Regions from separate parts of the Homo sapiens genome. Here region 1 is linked to region 2. The links are contacts of gene promoters, found by promoter capture Hi-C in blood cells and fetal thymus (Javierre and others, 2016). All regions are on one chromosome and are shown on one strand. Each heading gives the region's core, a stretch centred on a gene start or on the middle of the fragment in contact. The rest is flanking DNA. Distances are from core to core; before and after follow the strand shown.

Region 1 (4,653 bases), core at 61-2,560, 610 kb before region 2:
GTATAGTTTGAAGTCAGGTAGCGTGATGCCTCCAGCTTTGTTCTTTTTGCTTAGGATTGTCTTGGCTATACAGGCTCTTCTTTGGTTCCATATGAAATTTAAAGTAGTTTTTTTCTAATTCTGTGAAGAATGTCAATGGTAGTTTGATGGGAATAGCATTGAATCTATAATTACTTTGGGCAGCATGCACAATTTTTTATTTAGAGTTGTGATAAGTGTTACAAAAGAGATGAGAACAGGGTTCCATGAAATGTTTGGGTTCCTGAAAAGAGCATATAAATGTCATATCTTGAACTTAGTTAAAAGCTTAATGTATACTTAAATTCAAGCAATATTGGATACATTTGCATGGACAACCCTTTTTCTAATTTCAATTTTTTTTCACTTAATAATATGAGAAACTTCCCCCAATACAAATATTTACTTTTTACTGTATTACTCCTATTTCCTTCAAATATTGAAATTTTTTTTAATAATATGAGAAACTTCCCCCAATACAAATATTTACTTTTTACTGTATTACTCCTATTTCCTTCAAATATTGAAGATTTTTTTTTAAGCTCAAGACACAAGCAAAAAGGATTACTGAGGACTTTCTAACTTACCTTTACCTTTGTAATTTTTGCAACACCAGAAAAGCACATAGGATTGAAAAGCAGACTCTGCTTACTAAAAAGAATTTCTGTCAGTTTCATTGGAATGGGATTGCTGGTATCACAGAAACATTATGAGATTCATTTACATAAATTAACTTGATGTAAGTATAGAGAAGTCATCTGTCATTTCTATGCTTTTAAATAAACGGCTCCCCTTGCTGAGACTGCCAGCCATCATAATTGTGGCAGTTGTCATTTGGTAAAACAAATTGTGTGTCTGTCCAAGTTACTCACTTGAATATGAAATGCACTCTTCTAGGAATTTCTTAATACAAGAACATTATGTGAGATCTATATGCTTAGATTTTTTTTAGAGGTTTGGATTTTTTTAATATTATATAATTAATTTTTAGAACAGTATATATTAAAACAATATATTAAACTCTTCAACACCTATATGGCTTAAAGGTGAGGAACATGGGCTCTGTAATACAAACTGTCAATTAATAGCACTATCAACTGCTGTTTGACCTTGGTGTACCCTATTAGTTTCCTTATTAGTAAGACAGTAATTGTGGTGAAGGTTAAAGGAGAATATAAAGTGCTTAACATGTGTCTGGCACATAGTAAGTGGTGAGTAGATGTTAGCTGCTGTCATAATTGTCATTTCTGTCAAACATTAAAACATGTTTATAAAACTGTTTTCCCCCTGTGGAAAATAGAATAAATTGAAACTACAGTGGTTAGCTTCAGGTAATTTATAGTTCACAGCAGCATCTTTTCCTTAGACACTGTGTAATTTGCAGTATGTTAATTGGCCACCATCATGATGACCTGGGAATTATATTCTGTAAACTCTGTCAGTGGCAAAAAAATTTACATAATACGTTTAGAGTTATTTTAATCCAGAAGACTAAAATAATATGTTTTAGAGTATAAAAAGCATAAGATATATATTATCCAGAATGACTTGTTATCAGAGCATTTCAGCTCTCTGTAAATTTTATTAATAAAGATTTGTGCCCAACATTACTATAGCTTTTTGTACTTGATTGGATTAGTTGGTTTATGCCAATCAAGAATTCCATTCTCATATGGGCCTTTGAGTTTGATGTTTTCTTGGGGATCTTCTAATATAAAGTCTTTGCAAACAAACCTGTGCTACAGTTGCCAGGGCTTTAAGTTGAGGGCAAAAAAATTCTTCCAGTACCCACGAAATAACTGTGATCTAATTAAATAAATTATGGCACATCTAGTTTGGATGTGGTCATTCCAAAAGAATGCCTTTTTCCTAATTGATAAAAGGTAAGTATTTGCTAAGATGATGTGTCTGTTGCAGATGCACTTCTCGTATTGAAATATTGTTTCAATAGTATCAAAATTACTAGAAGAAATAATGTATAATGCATTGAATTAAAGTCCTCATTTGCACATCTTTTTTTGGTAACTGGGGCAGGAGAGTACCATGTATTAAGCATCTGGTTATTTTTAATAGTTTTGATTTGACATCTGTTTTGTTCCTAACATATTAAAGAGTAAAAATAACTGTGCTTTATTCATGCTAGTTCAGTAGAAGATTGTTTTTTATGACTTTATTTTGAAATTTTGAGTTGCCACATTTTCTTTACTACATAAATTAAATGTGAAGTGATAGACAATTTATTTTAGAAAGTATTTTATAATGATGAATTACATATTGCTTTTGTACAGAAGCTTTTCTATGGGCACTGGCTTAAAAATGACGACTTAAGTGTTTGCATCAATATTCATGTTTTATAGAGTAGGAAAGCAAATGGGAAAGTTGCGTGCTTCCGTGGTTAATTTCTTTGTGCAGCATCTGCGTCTTCTCTACTTCCAGCAATTATTTCTATGTATATCTTTTTTTTTTTTTTTTCTTGAGACAAGAGTCTTGCTCTGTCACCTGGGCTGGAGTACAGTGGCATGATCTTGGCTTACTGCAACCTCCACCTCCCGGGCTCAAGCCATTCTCCTGCCTCACACTCCCTAGTAGCGGGGATTACAGGCGTGTGCCACCATGCCCAGCTAATTTTTGTATTTTTAGTAGAGACAGGGTTTCACCACGTTGGCCAGGCTGATCTTGAACTCCTGGCCTCAAGTGATCCACCCGCCTCGGCCTCCCAAAGTGCTGGGAAACCATGCATATCTTTTGAAGAAGATTTCTACATTTCTAAGGACAAATACAATTTTGTTATTTTGGAATTTAGATGGTTCACATTATTGTAGGTACCCTGTTTTTTTTCTATTAGATTAAAATATATTTTTCAGTAATCTTTACATGTCTTCTGTAGTATATAACAGTACTATCAAATAGCAATATAATGTGTCACATATGCAATTTAAGATTTTCTAATACCCACATTAAAAGGAGCAAAAAAAGGTAAAATTAATATTTTTATTTACCTCAGTATATTCAAAATATTATTTTAATGTAATCAATATAAAAATCATTGAGATTTTTTTATTTCATATTAATTCTTCAAAATCCAGTTTGTATTTTATACTTATAACTTGTTTTAATCTGTATTAGCCACATTTCAAGTGTTCAGTAGCCACATGTGGCTAATTGCTATCCTATTTATTGTGCAGTGTAGGTCTGTAAAGTCAGAAAAAATTCTTTGTATCTGGATGGATGGACAGATAAAAGGAGATGTTTATCTTATATGAATCAGATTTGATCAGCGTAATAACTAGTTACCAAAACCCAATAATGTGGTCATCTTTATAGATATCAAAGGTGGGCTTTTTTACTCATTGGAGAAGTTAATTGGAGGAGATACATTGGAAATATTGGGTAGATGGAACTTCTCCTATTTAGTTGCCCTTAATGTAATATAACTGTATTATGTGGTTGCATTGTTTTTATTGTATATACATGTTTATACTTTCATGAAATTTCAGTGTATGTCTGTAACCTTTAGCATAAATGCAGTTCCAACTACAACGAAGATTTTGTGCTACAGCTAGAGAAGGAATTGGTCCAAGCCCGACTGAGTGAAGCTGAGTCTCAGTGTGCATTAAAAGAGATGCAGGATAAAGTCTTGGATATAGAGAAGGTAAGAAACCTACACAAATGCAGTCATTCCCAAATTAGAGGGGATATGTGATATTTATTAAGTACTTACTGAGCAATTTAATTGACTTGGTGTTTTTATACATTAGAAGCCTTACATATTAGTTACTAAGAGGAAAAGGAAAAAAAGATTTTTAAAATTGCCAGTTATTCCTTGTTGCCTTCATACTAATCACAGCCCCGTATTTAAGGATAAAAATGGAGATTAGAGCCCTTTTGGAGGAAAACGACCAGAATAATTTTCATAAAAAGAGTATCTAAATGTTGCAGAAGAGAGAAACTCAGGTGACAGAAATTAACTGTTATCATCAAATATTGCAATATTTTCATGTGGAAGAGATAGAATAGGACTAATACATAGACATTTCGGGAAAATTTCATCTGAGCGGGTGGAGCCAAGATAGCTGAATAGGAACAGCTCCTGTCTACAGCTCCCAGTGTGAGCGACGCAGAAGACGAATGATTTCTGCATTTCCAACTGCCGTACCAGGTGCATCTCATTGGGATTGTTGGACAGTGGGTGCAGGATAGTGGGTGTAGTGCACCGAGCCTGAGCCGCGAAGCGCAAGGGGTCAGGAAATTCCCTTTCCTAGCCAAGGAAAGGGGTGATGGACGGCACCTGGAAAATCGGGTCACTCGCACCCTAATACTGCGCTTTTCCGATGGTCTGAGCAAACAGCACACCAGGAGGTTATGTCCTGTGCCTGGCTCGGAGGGTCCTACGCTCACAGAGCCTCACTCATTACTAGCACAGCAGTCTGAGATCAAACTGCAAGGCGGCAGCGAGGCTGCAGCGGGGGCGCCTGCCATTGCCGAGGCTTGAGTAGGTAAACAACGCGGCCAGGAAGCTCCAACTGGGTGGAGCCCACTGCAGCTCAAGGAGGCCTGCCTGCCCCTGTAGACTCCACCTCGGGGGCAGGGCATAGCGAATCAAAAGTCAGCAGAAACCTCTGCAGACTTAAATGT
Region 2 (4,222 bases), core at 114-2,613:
CTTCCTAGAGGTTCAATAACTTTTTTTATTGGTGGTGAGTCTTGGAGGATTAAATGTTATGGGCACTGCAATGGATTTAATTAACAGATACTTTATTGCACTGACTATGCATCAGGCATTGTTCTAAGTTTTTCGTGTTTGTTTTTATAAATATTAACCTATTTAATTCTCATGTCGACCCCAGGCAAGAAAGAAGTTCTCTTGCCCTTCTGAACTTCAGCTGCGGGGCAATTTAGCTCCTAACAGGAAATAAGGACTTGGTGACATAAACATCCCCTCTTATGAGGCTGGGTTTGAAAGGCCTGTGAGTCAGACTGCAGGGTGTATCACGGGAACTATTTCCCTTCACCACCTGGAGCCTCAGGAAACAGAATATTTGTGGGCTGTGAGGAAGCTTGAACAATTAGCGTCTGCAGGCATGGCTGGATTTACCTTTTATTCCATTCCTTTCTTTGGTCCCTGACTTCATAAGTATGCATTCCTCCCCACAACACACACAATTTACTTATTGTTTCATGCAACCTAAGTCGTCTGTGATCATAATAAACTCATGACTCCCAAAGACTGACTGTTTACTCTTATTATCTCTAAAATTGGGCAAGAACAGCCTCCTGAGACATTAGGATGCCACGAGGAACAATTCTCTACAGCTGATCTGAGCTCTAAAGGGCAAAAGGGTGACAGGAGACAGCTTCCCCTTGCAGTAGGAAAAAGAGCAGGTTTATTCTGGGTTGTTGTGGCGCCGGGGGGCAGTAATATAAGAGGCCCCTGATTAGAGAAGTTCCACATTCAGAAACCAATCAAGGTGCCTGCAAAGACCGAGTGCTGTTTATCTGTATCTCTCTCTCTCTCTCTCTCTCTCACACACACACACACACACACACACACACGACACACAGGGACCCAACCCCTCCTCCCCTCCTGCCAGGACACTAGGGGACGCTGAGCCAGCGTCTCGGAAGGAGAAGCCCGGAGCCCCCCACCCTCGCGGCGGTCACGCTCCCTCCCGCTCCCGCCAGGCCCGCGCGGCCCTTCACCTTGATCCGCACGTAGCAGTGGGTGCCCAAGGAGGGGTCGCTCAGGCACGCGGGAGGGTGCTCCCGGGCGGGCCGCCGGAAGGTCTGCGCCGGCCCCTTGCCGAGGCTCCACAAAAGTTTGAGCAGGTGGATGGAGGCGCAGAGCCCGCAGTAGCAGTAGACCAGGGACCAGAAGAGCAGGGACCGGAGCGTGAGCATCAGGCGGGGCAGGCAATCCCGCAGCCTCGCCATTGGGAGGCGGCGGCGGGGCCCACTGCCCTTCCTCGGGAGCGGGTGAGCGAGCGCCGCAGCGCGCCAGGCCAGCCCGCCGTCGCCTCTCGACGCGCGCCTCCCCCGGCCCGGGGCGGCCGGCGTTCCGTGTCACCGCGGCGGCTCCGCACACGCGCCGCGCCCAGCCCGGAGCGCGCAGGGGAGAGCCGGGCCTGCGGGGTGCGGCGGGCCAGGCCGGGGTGCAGAGCTTGGCTGTCTTCCGCGGAGAGCGAGATCCCGTTTCAAAATCGCAAAACTGTGGGGGAGGATGAAGGCGAGACTTTCCCAAACCATCCTGGGCACCAAAGAAGGTAGCGCCACTCAGTCTTCTTTGTTGTTCTCAATGTATCAAGCAAAACTATTTCTAAGCCCACATATTCGTGTGTCATAGTTCAGGGACACAGGTCAGCGACAAACTTCCATGCTATTACACCCAAAGAGATTCTTTAGAGTGCAAAATCACTCTGCACTCTGAAAGATACCAGCCTTCCTCTTCTCAAAATCTTTCGTGGAATCATAATTTCTGTAGAAATCCGCCTATGCCTTGCCTGGTTCAGCCACAGCAAACTTACAGAGAGCTGCAACCCCAGGGATACAACGAATGCTTCAACAACGTGACGCGGCAGAAGCCTGGCCAGAAGGCCACACACCTGAGAGTTCGTCGAAGGGCTGGAAGCCGTGAGAGTGACAGTCCTCGGTAGGTATCTCAGCCTCAGCACCGACATGGCCACTCTTGTCCTGACCTCTTCTATCGTCCAGTTCACTGTTAGAATTTCATTAAGCCTTTTCCCAATCACCGGGTCAGGTATTAAGTGTTCATTTTTTATGAGAAACTGTCAAACTGGTTTCCAAAGTGGCTGTACAATTTTGAATTTACTTCAGCATGTGTGAGTTATACAATTGACCTTTGAACAATGCGGGGGGTTAGGGTTGCTGAACCCTTTCACATCTGAAAATCCATGTATAACTTTTGAGTTCCCCCAAACTTAAGTACTAATAGCCTACTACTGACCAAAACAATTAACATATGTTTATGTATTACATACTGTATCTTTATAATTAAGAAAAATGTTAAAATCATAAGGAAGAGAAAATACATTTACTATTCATTAAGTGGAAGTGGATTATCTTAAGAGTGTTCATCCTTGTCATCATCAGGTTAGGTAAGCTGAGGAGGAGAAAGAAGAAGGGAGGTTGATCTTCCTGTCTTGGGGTGAGGGGGAGGGAAGAGGTGGAAGAAAATCCATGTGTAAGTGGACCTACACAGTTCAAACACATGTTGTTTGAGGGTTAACTGTATTTTGCTCTTTTTTTCTAGGGTCTTGAGTTAGGAACTTATTGAGACCTTTGCAATTTCTAATGCAATCATTTAGCACCTATACATTTCTCTCAGTACTCTTTTTATTTTATTTTTTGAGACGGAGTCTCACTCTGTCGCCTAGACTGGAGTGCAATGGCGCGATCTCCATCTCAGCTCACTGCAAGCTCCGCCTCCCGGGTTCACGCCATTTTCCTGCCTCAGCCTCCTGAGTAGCTGGGACTACAGGCGCCCGCCACCATGCCCGGCTAAGTTTTTTGTATTTTTGGTAGAGACGGGGTTTCACCGTGTTAGCCAGGTTAGCTCGTGAACCGCCCGCCTCAGCCTCCCTAAGTGCTGGGATTACAAGTGTGAGCCACCGCGCCTGGCATCTCTCAGTACTCTTTAATCGTATTACATATGTGTTGATATGTTGTATTTTGCCATTTGTTATGTATTTTTTAAAATGTCCTGTTTTAGGTTGGGTGCTGTGGCTTACGCCTATAATCCCAGCACTTTGGGAGGCTGAGGCAGGAGGATCGCTTGAGCTCAGCAATTCAAGACCAGCGTGGGCAACATGGCAAAACCCTGTCTCTACAAAAAATAGAGAAATTAGCCAGGTGTGGTGGTGCACGCCTGTAGTCCCAGCTACTTGGGAGGCTGAAGTGGCAGGATCGCCTTAGCCCTGGAAGGTTGAGGCTGCAGTGAGCCAAAATCATGCCACTGCACTCTAGCCTGGGTTAAAGAGTGAGATTATGTTTCAAAAAATGAAAAACAAAACAAAACAAAACAAAAAACAGGGCCGGGGGTGGTGGCTCACATCTGTAATCCCAGCACTTTGGGAGGCTGAGCTGGTCAGATCACCTGAGGTCAGGAGTTTTGGACCAGCCTGGCCAACATGTTGAAACCCCATCTCTACTAAAAATACAAAAAAATTAGCCAGGCATAGTAGTGCACGCCTGTAGTCCAAACTACTTGGGAAGCTGAGGCATGAGAATTGCTTGAACCCGGGAGGCAGAGATTGCAGGGAGCTGAGATTGCACCACTGCACTTCAGCCTGGGTGACAAAGGGAGACTCCGTCTCAAAAAATAAATAAATAAAAAAAAACAAAGATTCCTGTCTTCCTCCTTGCCCCATTGTGTTTTTAATGTGTTTAGCAATTTTTCTATTATTACTTTCAGTCCTCCAAACTCTTAACTCATAACACATTAAATTTTTAAGAGATAGAGATCTTGCTATGTTGATCAGGCTGGTCTTGAACTCCTGGCCTCAAGCAATCCTCTCACTTTAGCCTCCCAAAGTGCTGAGACTACAAGCATGAGGTACTGTGCTTGGCAGTCCATTATTGACTTGTATCTGATTCTATTATGGCCCAAGAACATACTCCACATGACCTCTATTCTTTTAAATTTGTTTTATGATCTGGGATATGGTCTATCTTGGTGAATGTTCCATGGTTGTTTAAAAAAAAAAAACGTGTGGATAAGAGTGTTCTACATTTGCCCGCTAGATCATGTTGGCTGCTTGTGTCCTACCTTTTTTTTTTTTTCTTTTTCAAGAGACAGGGACTCGCTGTTACCCAGGATGGAGTGCAGTGGCTATTCACAGGTGCAGTCATTAAGCACACTGCAGCCTCGG

What was found. The method cuts DNA at HindIII sites, captures the fragments that hold promoters and counts their contacts. A CHiCAGO score of 5 or more calls a contact.
Region 1: a fragment that was not itself captured here is called in contact with the fragment with the promoter of EPHX4 in region 2 in 5 of 17 cell types (total CD4 T cells, naive CD8 T cells, activated CD4 T cells and 2 more); the score reaches 7.5 in total CD4 T cells.

Annotation. Positions count from the first base shown.
Region 1 is chr1:92,635,219-92,639,871 of GRCh38, reverse strand. It overlaps EVI5 (ecotropic viral integration site 5), which reads left to right. Exons shown (of 20, transcript NM_001350197.2): 14 at 3,536-3,670. Among named protein-coding and RNA genes, the nearest start is that of EVI5, 150 kb to the left of the region's middle. The HindIII fragment of the contact is 2,003 bases long and covers 309-2,311 here.
Region 2 is chr1:92,027,126-92,031,347 of GRCh38, reverse strand. EPHX4 (epoxide hydrolase 4) reads right to left here and starts at 1,363. Exons shown (of 7, transcript NM_173567.5): 1 at 1,038-1,363. The coding sequence starts at 1,268. It overlaps LOC124904218 (a long non-coding RNA gene), which reads left to right and starts at 961. Exons shown (of 2, transcript XR_007066222.1): 1 at 961-1,983; 2 at 4,144-4,222. RefSeq lists an enhancer at 1,163-1,664. The HindIII fragment of the contact is 12,008 bases long and covers 397-4,222 here.